Regions from separate parts of the Homo sapiens genome. Here regions 1, 2 and 3 are each linked to region 4. The links are contacts of gene promoters, found by promoter capture Hi-C in blood cells and fetal thymus (Javierre and others, 2016). All regions are on one chromosome and are shown on one strand. Each heading gives the region's core, a stretch centred on a gene start or on the middle of the fragment in contact. The rest is flanking DNA. Distances are from core to core; before and after follow the strand shown.

Region 1 (2,700 bases), core at 171-2,670, 550 kb after region 4:
AGGTAGGTGTTTCATACTAGGTAGCGGAGATTAACACTTTATTGGGAACTCATACTTCTTGGGTCACAGTGTCTTCTTGCTTGTCACTTGTAGTTACAGAACCAATCTTCCCACTTTTTCACATCCTTCCCCCAGAATTTCCCTATGCTGATCGTCTAAAAGAGGGAAAACAGGGTACATCAGTTAGAATTCTCTGTTGCAGGAGACCACAAACATGACTCAGGCTGGCTTTAAAGCAACAAGGACATTTATGGACTCATGTAACTGCAGAGCCCAGTTGTCAATAGCTCATTGATGTCATTGGGCAGCTGATGTCTTTCCATCTCTGGCCTCTACTGTCTTCCATGTTGGTTTCATTCTCAGCTCTAGGTGATGACAAGATGGCTCCCAACAGCTTTAGGCCCACTTTCTTCCTGGTTCATACTGCAGTGCACCTCATTGGCTCTGGTTGGATGATGGCATGTCCATGAACTAATCACTGAGGCTGGGGATCTGTGACCCACTGATGGGCCTGGCCCAAGCCATAAGTTCACTTTAGAGGTGGGAGAAAAATCAACTCCACACAAGGCTAAGAATGAGGAGGGGTGTTCCTTCTCAGAGGGCTATTTCTGGAGGAGGAATGAATGGATGTAGGATGGTAACAAAAAGAACTGAGGTCCACTTTACAGAATGAATGAATGAAGTTGACCTGAGAGCTCTCAGATTCCTACAGATGGCTTAAGAAAATGCCAGACTCCAGGGAAAGGTGAAAGAATAAGTCCTTGCCATCCCTCCAGCCTTTTTCAAACTATAGTGCACCCTTTTCTATTTAGTAGAAGTGGATTCCTGATGGCATTGAGAGTGAGTCTGTGAAAATATATCTTCCTGGGAATATACGTGTAAATATACTGGCATCAGAACATGCATTCAGAGTCATGTGTACTGCCTCTATATTTTTAAAATTTTCAATTCTTAGTCTTCGTGATAAAACCACGCCCCACTGCCATTAAAAATTAGAATGTTGGTGGGTTGTGTGTTTGTGTGTTGAAAAACCCTTGTGAGGACAAGAAGACTAACTAAATCAAATTTTTATAGTCTTAATGACATTTGAGCAGCACTGACGTGCTAGAGGGAAAACAGTTATGTTGGTTTTAGAAACCAATACGTTGTATTCTTGACAATGCTCTTTTAAGCTTGATTATAGTATTGTCACATTTTACCACAATACTAGACATCTTAGAGAAATTTAATAACATGTTTGGGAATCTTACTAATTGGGGGAAATTAACATATTAAGATTTTCCATATATTTTTTAAAGTAATGATAATTCTTGCATGGAATCTTAATTCAATGGAAGAGAAGATTCATTTACCGCCTTGCAAGGTGCTCAAGACCGTGTGTGCTCTATTTGGTACCGCTGGCTGCATCATTAAACGCACACTCTGCCTACCTGCAGAGAAAATCGCTGTTCTTGTTGTTTTTAGATCTTTGTAGTCATAATTGTCCATTATGTTTAACAGCACTGGAGATTTTGCAAGTGGAATTGGGTAGATCTGTTAAGGACATTCAGTCCTGTCTTCTGCCAGGCATTAGGGTCTCTTCTAGCATGTTTCACTCAATTTCTCCAGCCAAGAAATGTAGGGTTATTCTTTGGAAAGGGGATTGTGATAAGTTAGGATATTTTGGTTGTAAGCTTCAGAATCCCATTTCAAAGTTGCATAGGCAACAAGAGATATGTTGCCACCCATAACTGTAACAGTCAGGGGTATTCCTGGGCTGGGGGCAGGATGCTGCCTGGACTGTGTCTCCCCCGCATGGGTATTTGATTCTCTATAACCCAAACCAGATTTCCCCATGCAGGCAGCAACATGGCAGTTGGAAGCTCCAGGCTCCCTTCTTCCCGGCTTTGATAGCAGAAAAAAAAAAAAAAAAAAAAAAAAAAAAGGCTATTTGTTCTTCTTCATCCTTCTTAATTCCAGTTTAAAAAAAAAAAAAAAAGGAAGGACTCTTATTTGACTCACTTAGTTTACACACCACCGTTCACACACCACCGTTTGGACTCATCTGTTTGGACAAGGATGAAGCACTCTGATGAACCAGTTGGGATCAAGTACCATCAGAGTTGGCAGCAGGGCACAATTCTGAGTTTAATGCAGAAAGGAGGGTGGGAATTGTTACCCGGAGAAGTCAAATACAATAAATAAAGATGTTGGGCAAGCAGATTATTAGTGGCAATAACACACTTCTGTTATTACATCAATGCTTACATCAGTGTCTGCCCCTCACCTCCCACCCCACTATGTGCAGAGCAAAAGCTGACATTTCATAAATACTCTGTTTCTTCTCTGTGGAGCTAACTGATCCTCCTTTAGGCATATATCTAGATGAATAGTAGAGGAAACTAAGAAGGTAGAAAGTCTAGGACCGTGCGGGATTACAAAACCAGGATCTTGGCATGTTTCAAGGGCAAAAAGTGGTGGGGCACAGTGTCCCAGGCCTGTAATCCCAGCACTTTGGGAGACTGAGGTGGGAGAATCACTTGAGGTCAGGAGTTCGAGACCAGCCTGGCCAACATGGCAAAACCCCGTCTCTACTGAAAATACAAAAAATTAGCCGAGTGTAGTGGCAAGTGCCTGTAGTCCCAGCTACTCAGGAGGCTGAGGTGGGAGGATCACTTGGACTGGGGAAGTGGAGGTTGCAGTGAGCCAAGATCATGCCAC
Region 2 (2,700 bases), core at 45-2,544, 580 kb after region 4:
CTCTCCTTGAAGATGGAGTGAGCTGGTGGGCTATGGAGGAGTGCTTGTAGAAAGGAAACTAAAGCTTTCTGGACAAACAGATAAACTCCTAGATTCATTCATTTATTCAGTAAATATGTATGCATCCTGATTATATGCTGGGTACTCCTCTGGGTGCTCATGAAGCATCAGTCACTCAAACACATGAAGCTTGTTGCTTTTGTGAGCTTCCATTCTGCAGGGGAAGATAGACATTGAGCAATAAGCTTAATAAATACATCCTATGGTATGTTAGGAGGTGATAAGTGCTACAGAAAAAAATAAAAAGAAAAAGTAGACCAGGATAGAAAGCTTCTGGAGTATTGGGTTGGGGAAAGTGGGGTAGACCTTTTGGAGAAGCTGTGGTGTGAGCACAGTCTGGAAGGAGTTGAGTATGAAGGATTCTCTCAATCAGAGTTTATCCAGACAGAGATGCCCCATGCCTCTGAGCTCACTGCTGTGGTTCCTTTCCTGTCATCTGAGTCCCTGCTCTTCCAGGTTTTCACAGTCATCTCTTGATGTTCATCTGTCTCCTTCACTTTGCTCAATACACTAAGATGTCTTTGCAGTTGCAACTGGTTAATGAATGACGGTGAAAATTAGGCCCCTAGGGCTGTCAGCAACTCCAGGCCCCCCAGCTGAAGGAAGCCAGGTGGGAGTGAACCAAATCTTCCCAATTTACCTGACAATGAGACTCAAAGTTGTAAAGACTGTAGGCTATAGCTCAGTTTGTCAGGGATTCTAGAATCTTCTAGAAGGGGCTTCTAGAAGATTCTGGACATCTTTATAGCTCAGACAATTTGTAATTATCAGGTACCCCATGGGCTTCTGGTGTTGTGCCCTGAGGGCAACCAACAAAGGCTTTAAGTTTATCAGGTTCCTCTCTGTGATGTCCTCTTTTAAATCAGACCTGTTCATTCTGGGACAGGCAATCACAGCTGAGGCAATAGATGGGTGTGGGGGAGATATATTTTGTTTAGTGTCTCCTATTAGAAGATTTTCACTTGAAAGATGAGAATTGGAGTCTTTTTGTCCCTGAGAAAATATCCAGATTCAACCTTATCTTTGCAGGCCTTTTACAAAATTCTGTGCTGAAGTCTGTGTTTTATGAAACGAACATTCCTACAATTATGTTTTTAGCAGTTCCAGTCATGTGACATGGAATACAGTTTCGACATCATGATGTCCATTCACTTTATAGTGATGTTGATTTCCAGTTTCTCAGAAGATTCATTTCAGAAATAAGAATTGCTCTGGTTTCAAACTTTTAGCTCTAAATTCAGCATTTGGAGACCTTCAATGAGGCTGATTCTTAGGATGTGTATGGTCTCAAATTTTTTTTCCTTAGAGTTTAAAAATATATGACCAAGTATAATGAAGATATGGCATTTCTTTAAATATCCAGCTACTGCAAAGGAGAGTTTAAGATGACCTCAGGAATGCTTTCCCAAAATGTAATGGGCTTTGCTCTTTTTCACTCCAGCTATTTTAGGCAGTCATTAAACAGTTGTTAGCAGTTTAGTAAGTTTATATAAAAGTGCATATTTTGAGGCTTTACATGCCACAGGAGAAGTTCCAATGTAAACAGAGGAAGACAGAATCAGTGCTTCAAACGGAAGCGCCCAGCACTATATTCTCATACCAGTTGAGGAAATGCTTACACATACAAGCCCATCAACACACATTGACCCACCCCAGCTATCAGAGAGGTTCTGGGATAATTGATCTCTCAGGGGGTATCAAGTGGGACCAATCAGGCGAGATCCCAGTTCTAGTTCTGGGTGGGTCAACGAGATTCACTTTGTGCTGGGGTTACAGATTGTGTCTCAGCTTTTGGTAAATGTCTCATAAATGCATTCCACTCATCAAGAGAGCGTGGATTATGAGCTCCTGGCTCTCGGCCAGAGAGATGCGCAGCAATGCTGGGATGCACGTGCCAAGAATGTTCTCTGTTCTTTAGACTGTTCAGACTGTCGGTGCCTGACCAGGCAGAGATGGCTCTTTGTCACTGTGATACCTGCATTCGTTGATAAGTGGTGGGGCTCACCCCTCAATCTGTGGACTGGTTCTGACACTGGTCCATTTCTCCTTGAGTTGTTGCAGAAGAAGAAAAAAAGCAGTAAAAGCTGTCGCTTTCTGTGTAATGTCTATGAACTTGCATTTGTCATCAGAGTCAACTCTTTGGTACAGAGCATACTCTTCTTTGTTTCATTAATTAAAATGCATCTGTAGTCTTCAAAACAAGCTTTTATCTGGATCTCTGTGATTCCTTTTTAAAATTCTTTATTTCTCTCTCTGTGAATCTCAGCAGCAATAGTAACCCTAGTGATGGCCAGCACTGAGCACTTACTATGTCCCCAGGCTCTGTTTTGCATGAGCTTTACACATATTAACTCATTTGATCCACAACGTATCCCTGCCAAAAGGAAGCTAATATTATTATTACTATTCTTATTTTACAGATGTGACACAGAGATTAAGTAAATTGCTTATAATTACATGGCTTGTAACTGTGGGGTTTGTACCCACTATGTGGCTTCAAAGTTGACTTTAACCGACACTACTAAGCTGTTTAACAATACAATGGCAGCACCACCACCAACAAAACTTTTTTTTTTTTTTTTTGAGACAGGGTCTTGCTCTGTTGCCCAGGCTGGAGTGCAGTGGCCTGATCATGGCTCA
Region 3 (2,700 bases), core at 69-2,568, 530 kb after region 4:
TAGTCTTGAACTCCTGACCTCAAATGATCTGTTTCCCTCTGCCTCTACCTCCCAAAGTGCTGGGATGACAGGTGTGAGCCACTGTGCCCAGCCTAACTTTTGTATTTTTTAGTAGAAACAGGGTTTCGCCATGTTGGCCAGGCTAGTGTCAAACTCCTGACCTCAGGTGGTCCACCCACATTGCTTTCTCAAAGTGCTGGGATTACAAGCATGAGCCACCGTGCCCGGCCTAATTTTAAGTGTCAGTATTTTGCTCATGGGAAGTAATCTGTAGGTAGGAGAAGTGTCACAATAACCATAAAAGCACAGAAGCCACATCATTCTTCAGGTTGTCCCCAGGGGCTGCCAAGACAACTTTGAGTGCACGGCTAAAATCTCCAGTTAACTGACAACTTCTGTAATTAATTATTCCTGTCTCCTTCAATCATGCAGCAATTAGATTTTCATTACCTGTGAAAAGGTCAACATTTATTTGCTGATTTTTAAGACTGGAGTCCATTCTTAAGTTACTTCGTGTCAAGGAAGATGGATATTCATTCACACTAAGCTGATATTAACATCATGATGGATTTTGAATGTCTTTTTAATAAGTCATTAATATATTTTTGGAAATTTCTTAAGAATTTTTTTCCCTAGTTTCTGAAATCTTAGCTTGATGTTTTGGAACAACTAAAGGAATATAAATATAAGAGTTTTTTTTTTCTTTTTACTGTGGTGACATAATTTGTTTTAAGCTTCATATAGCTAATAGCAATTAGTGGAAATTAGTGACTTTTGGGACTCTTTCAAGAAGGACACAGAGACCTGCATGTGTCAGGGAGAATCTATAGGTAACACCTTGTACTACAGCCAAATCCCCTTTCCTGTCTCCCCTTTTCCTTATACAACCTGGGCTGCACTAATGATTAACTGTTTCAGATATTGGGCGTTCATATATTTTAATGCTGGTAAAAAATATTTAGAAAAACTGTTCACAAAAGTAGCTGCACTTGAAGTAGCAAATTAACTAAAACAATTACATATATTTTTTTTTTCAAATTTAGTCAGCTAAATATTTGAACACTTAATCTTCCCTGTCTTTTCCGTTTGGGAGAGGTTTGGCCTTCACTTTTTTCCCCCCTTAATTCCTTCAGAAGAAGTAGTCTAGTCCTTATTTTCAAGGATTTCAAGTAACTGAAAACCAAATCTTTCGAGCAAGATGGACTTAATTTTAAATACACATTAGATTAAAATAAATTTAATTTTGTAATAGCAGGATGAATTTTCACTAACATTTTTAAAGGTATATGAAAATGGACTATTAGCTTTCCAAAGATGCTTTAAATGTTTTTTTGTTTTCTGATCCTGACTGTTATTATAATAACAAAATAACTGGTCAGTAAGTAATCACTCTACAGTTTTTTAAAAAAAAAGAAACTTTAGAAGAGAAATTCCTGTGGAAATTAGTAAAATAACAGAATAGAGATATAATGAAGCATATATATTTATTTTGTCTTTTAATATGATATATGATAGGGATTTGCTCTAACACTCTTAAGGCATGAGCAAATGAATACTTTAAATAAATCATCCCTTATACACTTAAGTAATTGAAGAACAATTTTTTTTCTCAAAACTATCACCAGCATGCATGCAGTTCAGTGTGCTATAGTTGTTTGGTGTATAAACTATCTTAGTACAGTTGAAAACTGTAATAATTTCATTACATATACTTTGCATAGGTAGCTAAGTACGCCTGAAATAACATTTATGAACAGGATTCCCAGGGGTCTGGAAAAATTAATGTGAGTTTTTAAATGTGTTCAACTTCTTGCAGAGAACAGCCACCTCCTCTGTGACTGAATGTCTTCAACATTGTGTGGCTCTCACAGTGCCTGTTGTACAATTGTAAGCAACCACAAAAAAGCTTACACATTCAAGAAGTTGGATAATGAGACATATTTATCACTAAAATGCTAAAATTAAAGGACAATAGAATTGCGAAGATACTCTTTTCTGTTCATTTAAAAACGGTACTGGAGGCTGGACATGGTAGCTCACTCCTGTAGTCCCACCACTTTGGGAGGCTGGGGCGGGAGAATTGCTTAAAGTCATGAGTTCAAGACCAGCCTAGGCAACATAGTGAGACCCTGTCTCTACAAAAAACAAAAATTAGCCAAGCACGGCAATGTGTGCCTGTAGTTCCAGTTACTTGGGAGGCTGAGGTGGGAGGATTGCTTGAGCCCAGAGGGTGTGGGGTGTAGTCAAGGCTGCAGTGAGCCATGATCATATCACTGCACTCCAGCCTGGGTGACAGCACAAGACACTGTCTCAAAAAAAAAAAAAAAAATGGGATGAGATTATATTTTGTCTTTGTTCTCAAAGATAATTCATGTTCCTCATGAGGATAAACGGTGAATTTAACAAAGATTGTCGCTACACCCCCAAAGAAACAGGCCTTAAAAATACTTTCTAGGTAATAAGTATTTTTGCACATAGGTTAATATAAATTTAAAAGAAAATTTTAAAGAGATTTTCATACTTTATTTTAGCCTTCTTAGGCCTTAGAAAATGCATCTGTCCAAACCTTTACATAATAATTGGAAAAGAAAAAAAGTGGTTAAAAGAATGTTATTTTTCAACAGTTTACTGAATAATGTTTACACAAGTAAAAAGAATGAGCTGTTAACCGAGGACAACCTTGTATATTACATTATGAAA
Region 4 (2,700 bases), core at 24-2,523:
TACTAAAAATACAAAAAAATTAGCCAGGCGTGGTGGCGGGCGCCTGTAGTCCCAGCTACTCGGGAGGCTGAGGCAGAAGAAAGGCATGAACCCGGGAGGCGGAGCTTGTAGTGAGCCGAGATCCCGCCACTGCACTCCAGCCAAGACCGAGCGAGACTCCGTCTCAAAATAAATAAATAAATAATAAAAAGAAAAAAAGAAAATAGTAAACTTTTCCTCGCGTTTACATAAGTTAATACTTCGAGTGATAATGGGAAAATAACTTTTTTAAAAGGCAGTGCAATTGAGAAATGGAAAAGCATTTTCCCAACAGGTTTTGAGAAGCAGTTGACACAAAAGTCACTTTGAGAGCTCTGCGAAGAGCGACAGTCATTGTGTAACCTTAACTTGCAAAGTCATACTCAAAGCCAAAAATCAAGGTCCAGCTTATCAGCCACGGAGCCTGAGGCCATAAAGATGCTGGGCAGGAGCTCCACGCTGGGATAAGTGGGGTGGTTATTTCAAAATCGTCCCAAGTGACAAGCTCTAGGACGTGCTGTGCTTTAAAAAAAAAAAAAAAAAAAAGTCGCGGTGAAATTAACAGGGGCGAAAACTCTGCCCAGCGATCGCAGCATGAAGCTCTGCGCTCCCGAGACCATCGAGTGGCCAGGGCTGGGCGCTCCTTCAACAGCAGCGAAGGCAGCGGCGCCGGGGCAGCAGCCACCTCCCCCGCGGGCCGGCACCGCATTCCTGCCCGGTTCTATACTTAACCTCCGGCCAGCGCCCCGCCGTGCACCGTATTAGGCAATGCCAGGCGCGCAGGGCCCGGCCCCCCCGCCCGCTCCATTCAACCCCGGCGGTGGCCGCGGCGACAGCTCCCTTCCCCCACGGCCGCTGCCCGCACCCCCCGCGCCCCTTACACCCCGGCCCGCGCCCCCTGAACCCGGAACCTCCGCGGACCGCGGCGCGGGGAGGGCCCGAGGGTGCCCCGCGGCGCGCGTACCCCGCGGTCATGGCGATGTCGTAGAAGGTGAGCCAGGCGGTGGCCAAGACCCCCAGGCGCCTCCGCTCGCCGGGAGCCTCCCGGTCCTCGCCGGCCTCCGAGGCGCCGCCGTTGGTGCCGTCCTCGTCGCTGGACGCCATGGTGGCCGCGCACCTGGGGGACGTGGGAGACAGCGGCAGGAGCGTGGGAGGGGACCCTGCCCAGCCTGCAGCCCGAGAGCCGCTGCCCGCTGCCGCCGCTTCCGTCAGGCGCCCCATGTGCAGCGCGCAGGGGGCTCGGCGCAGCCAGCTCTACCGACCGCGAGGGGGAGGAGCGGACGCCCCCGGCCACCGCCCGTCACGCCCCCGCCCCGCCCCGCCCCTTGGGAGCGCGCGCCACTCGGGGGCCAGAACGCCTGGCCCTGGCACTGGGGATCCAGGACCCGCGAGCCCCGGCACGCTTTCCAGGCGGCGCTGTAGTTTCCGCTCCCGAGGAAAGTGCACCCGCCTCGCTAGCTGCGGGCGCCTCTTCATAGAGAGACGCCCAGACGCCTTGCGCCCTGGCGATGCGCACCCTGCGAGTGCATTTAGTGGGGACACAGGGAACGCACCTGAACTTGGCGTGGCTCTGCCCTGCCTGGCCTTTTGTAAGGCAGTTTCTCAATACGCAGGCAGGGAGCGGGATCTTCCCGCCACTCATTCTTTTCTTTTTAGAGATGCGGTCTCAGTCTGTCTCCTAGGCTGGAGGGCAGTGACGTGAACATAGCTCACTGCAATTTCGTGAGCTCAAGCAATCTTCCCACCTCTGCCTTCCAAAGTTCTGTGATTACAAGCCTGAGCCACAGCGCTGGGCCAAACATTCATTCATTCTTAAGAGCTTCTGGGGAAGAAACGCCTATTTCGCCCTGTTTCCCGTTTACTAGCGAGTCCAACAGGTCTTCCAACAGTGAGAAGACCGTCCCACTTGAGTGATTTTTTTTTCCTTTTTCATTTCTTATTTTTTTTTTTTTTTACAGTCTGGAGTGCAGTGTTGTGATCTCGGCTCACTGCAACCTCCGCCTCCCTGATTCAAGAGATTCTCCTGCCTCAGCCTCCCGAGTAGCTGGAACTACAGTCATGCACCACCACGCCCGGCTAATTTTTGTTATTTTTAGTAGAGACGGTTTCACCACGTTTGCCAGGCTGGTCCCGAACTCCTGGCCTCAAGTGATCCACCCGCCTTGGCTTCCCAAAGTGCTGGGATTACAGGCGTGAGCCACCGCACCCGGCCTCACTTGTGTGAATTTTACCGGAGCGTGTGTGTGTGTGTGTGTGTGTGTCTGTGTGTCTGTGTGTCTGTGTGTGTGTCTATTTACCAAGTGTCAGGCCTCTGAGCCCAAGCTAAGCCATTATATCCCCTGTGACCTGCACGTATACATCCAGATGGCCTAAAGTAACTGAAGAATCACTAAAGAAGTGTGGCCGGTTCCTGCCTTAACTGATGACATTACCTTTTGAAATTCCTTGCACCTACTGAAATACAACCCCCAAATTCCTGAATCCTCCCATTTTATTAGCTGTGTGAACTTGGACAACGTAACCTATCCATGCCTCAGTTTCCTTAGTGGAAATAATTTTTAAAAATCGTGAGCAGAGATCGCCCGTTGCACTCCAGCCTGGACGACAGAGTGAGACTCTGTCTCAAAAAAATAAAAAAAAAAGGAAAGGAAGGCTGGGTGTGGTGGCTCACCCCTGTAATCC

The links. Contacts are between HindIII fragments. The CHiCAGO score rates a contact against its expected background, and 5 or more counts as called.
Region 1: a fragment that was not itself captured here is called in contact with the fragment with the promoter of HACD1 in region 4 in 2 of 17 cell types (M2 macrophages and fetal thymus); the score reaches 6.1 in M2 macrophages.
Region 2: a contact is called between a fragment that was not itself captured here and the fragment with the promoter of HACD1 in region 4, in 4 of 17 cell types (M1 macrophages, fetal thymus, M2 macrophages and 1 more). The highest score is 8.0, in M1 macrophages.
Region 3: a fragment that was not itself captured here is called in contact with the fragment with the promoter of HACD1 in region 4 in 2 of 17 cell types (M1 macrophages and monocytes); the score reaches 5.6 in M1 macrophages.

Annotation. Positions count from the first base shown.
Region 1 is chr10:18,169,626-18,172,325 of GRCh38, forward strand. The region is part of intron 2 of CACNB2 (calcium voltage-gated channel auxiliary subunit beta 2); the gene reads left to right. Among named protein-coding and RNA genes, the nearest start is that of CACNB2, 31 kb to the left of the region's middle. The HindIII fragment of the contact is 501 bases long and covers 1,171-1,671 here.
Region 2 is chr10:18,193,668-18,196,367 of GRCh38, forward strand. The region is part of intron 2 of CACNB2 (calcium voltage-gated channel auxiliary subunit beta 2); the gene reads left to right. Among named protein-coding and RNA genes, the nearest start is that of CACNB2, 55 kb to the left of the region's middle. The HindIII fragment of the contact is 1,933 bases long and covers 329-2,261 here.
Region 3 is chr10:18,146,693-18,149,392 of GRCh38, forward strand. The region is part of intron 1 of CACNB2 (calcium voltage-gated channel auxiliary subunit beta 2); the gene reads left to right. Among named protein-coding and RNA genes, the nearest start is that of CACNB2, 7.6 kb to the left of the region's middle. The HindIII fragment of the contact is 1,172 bases long and covers 733-1,904 here.
Region 4 is chr10:17,616,101-17,618,800 of GRCh38, forward strand. HACD1 (3-hydroxyacyl-CoA dehydratase 1) reads right to left here and starts at 1,274. Exons shown (of 7, transcript NM_014241.4): 1 at 983-1,274. The coding sequence starts at 1,239. RefSeq lists a silencer at 815-1,474. The HindIII fragment of the contact is 16,531 bases long and covers 1-2,700 here.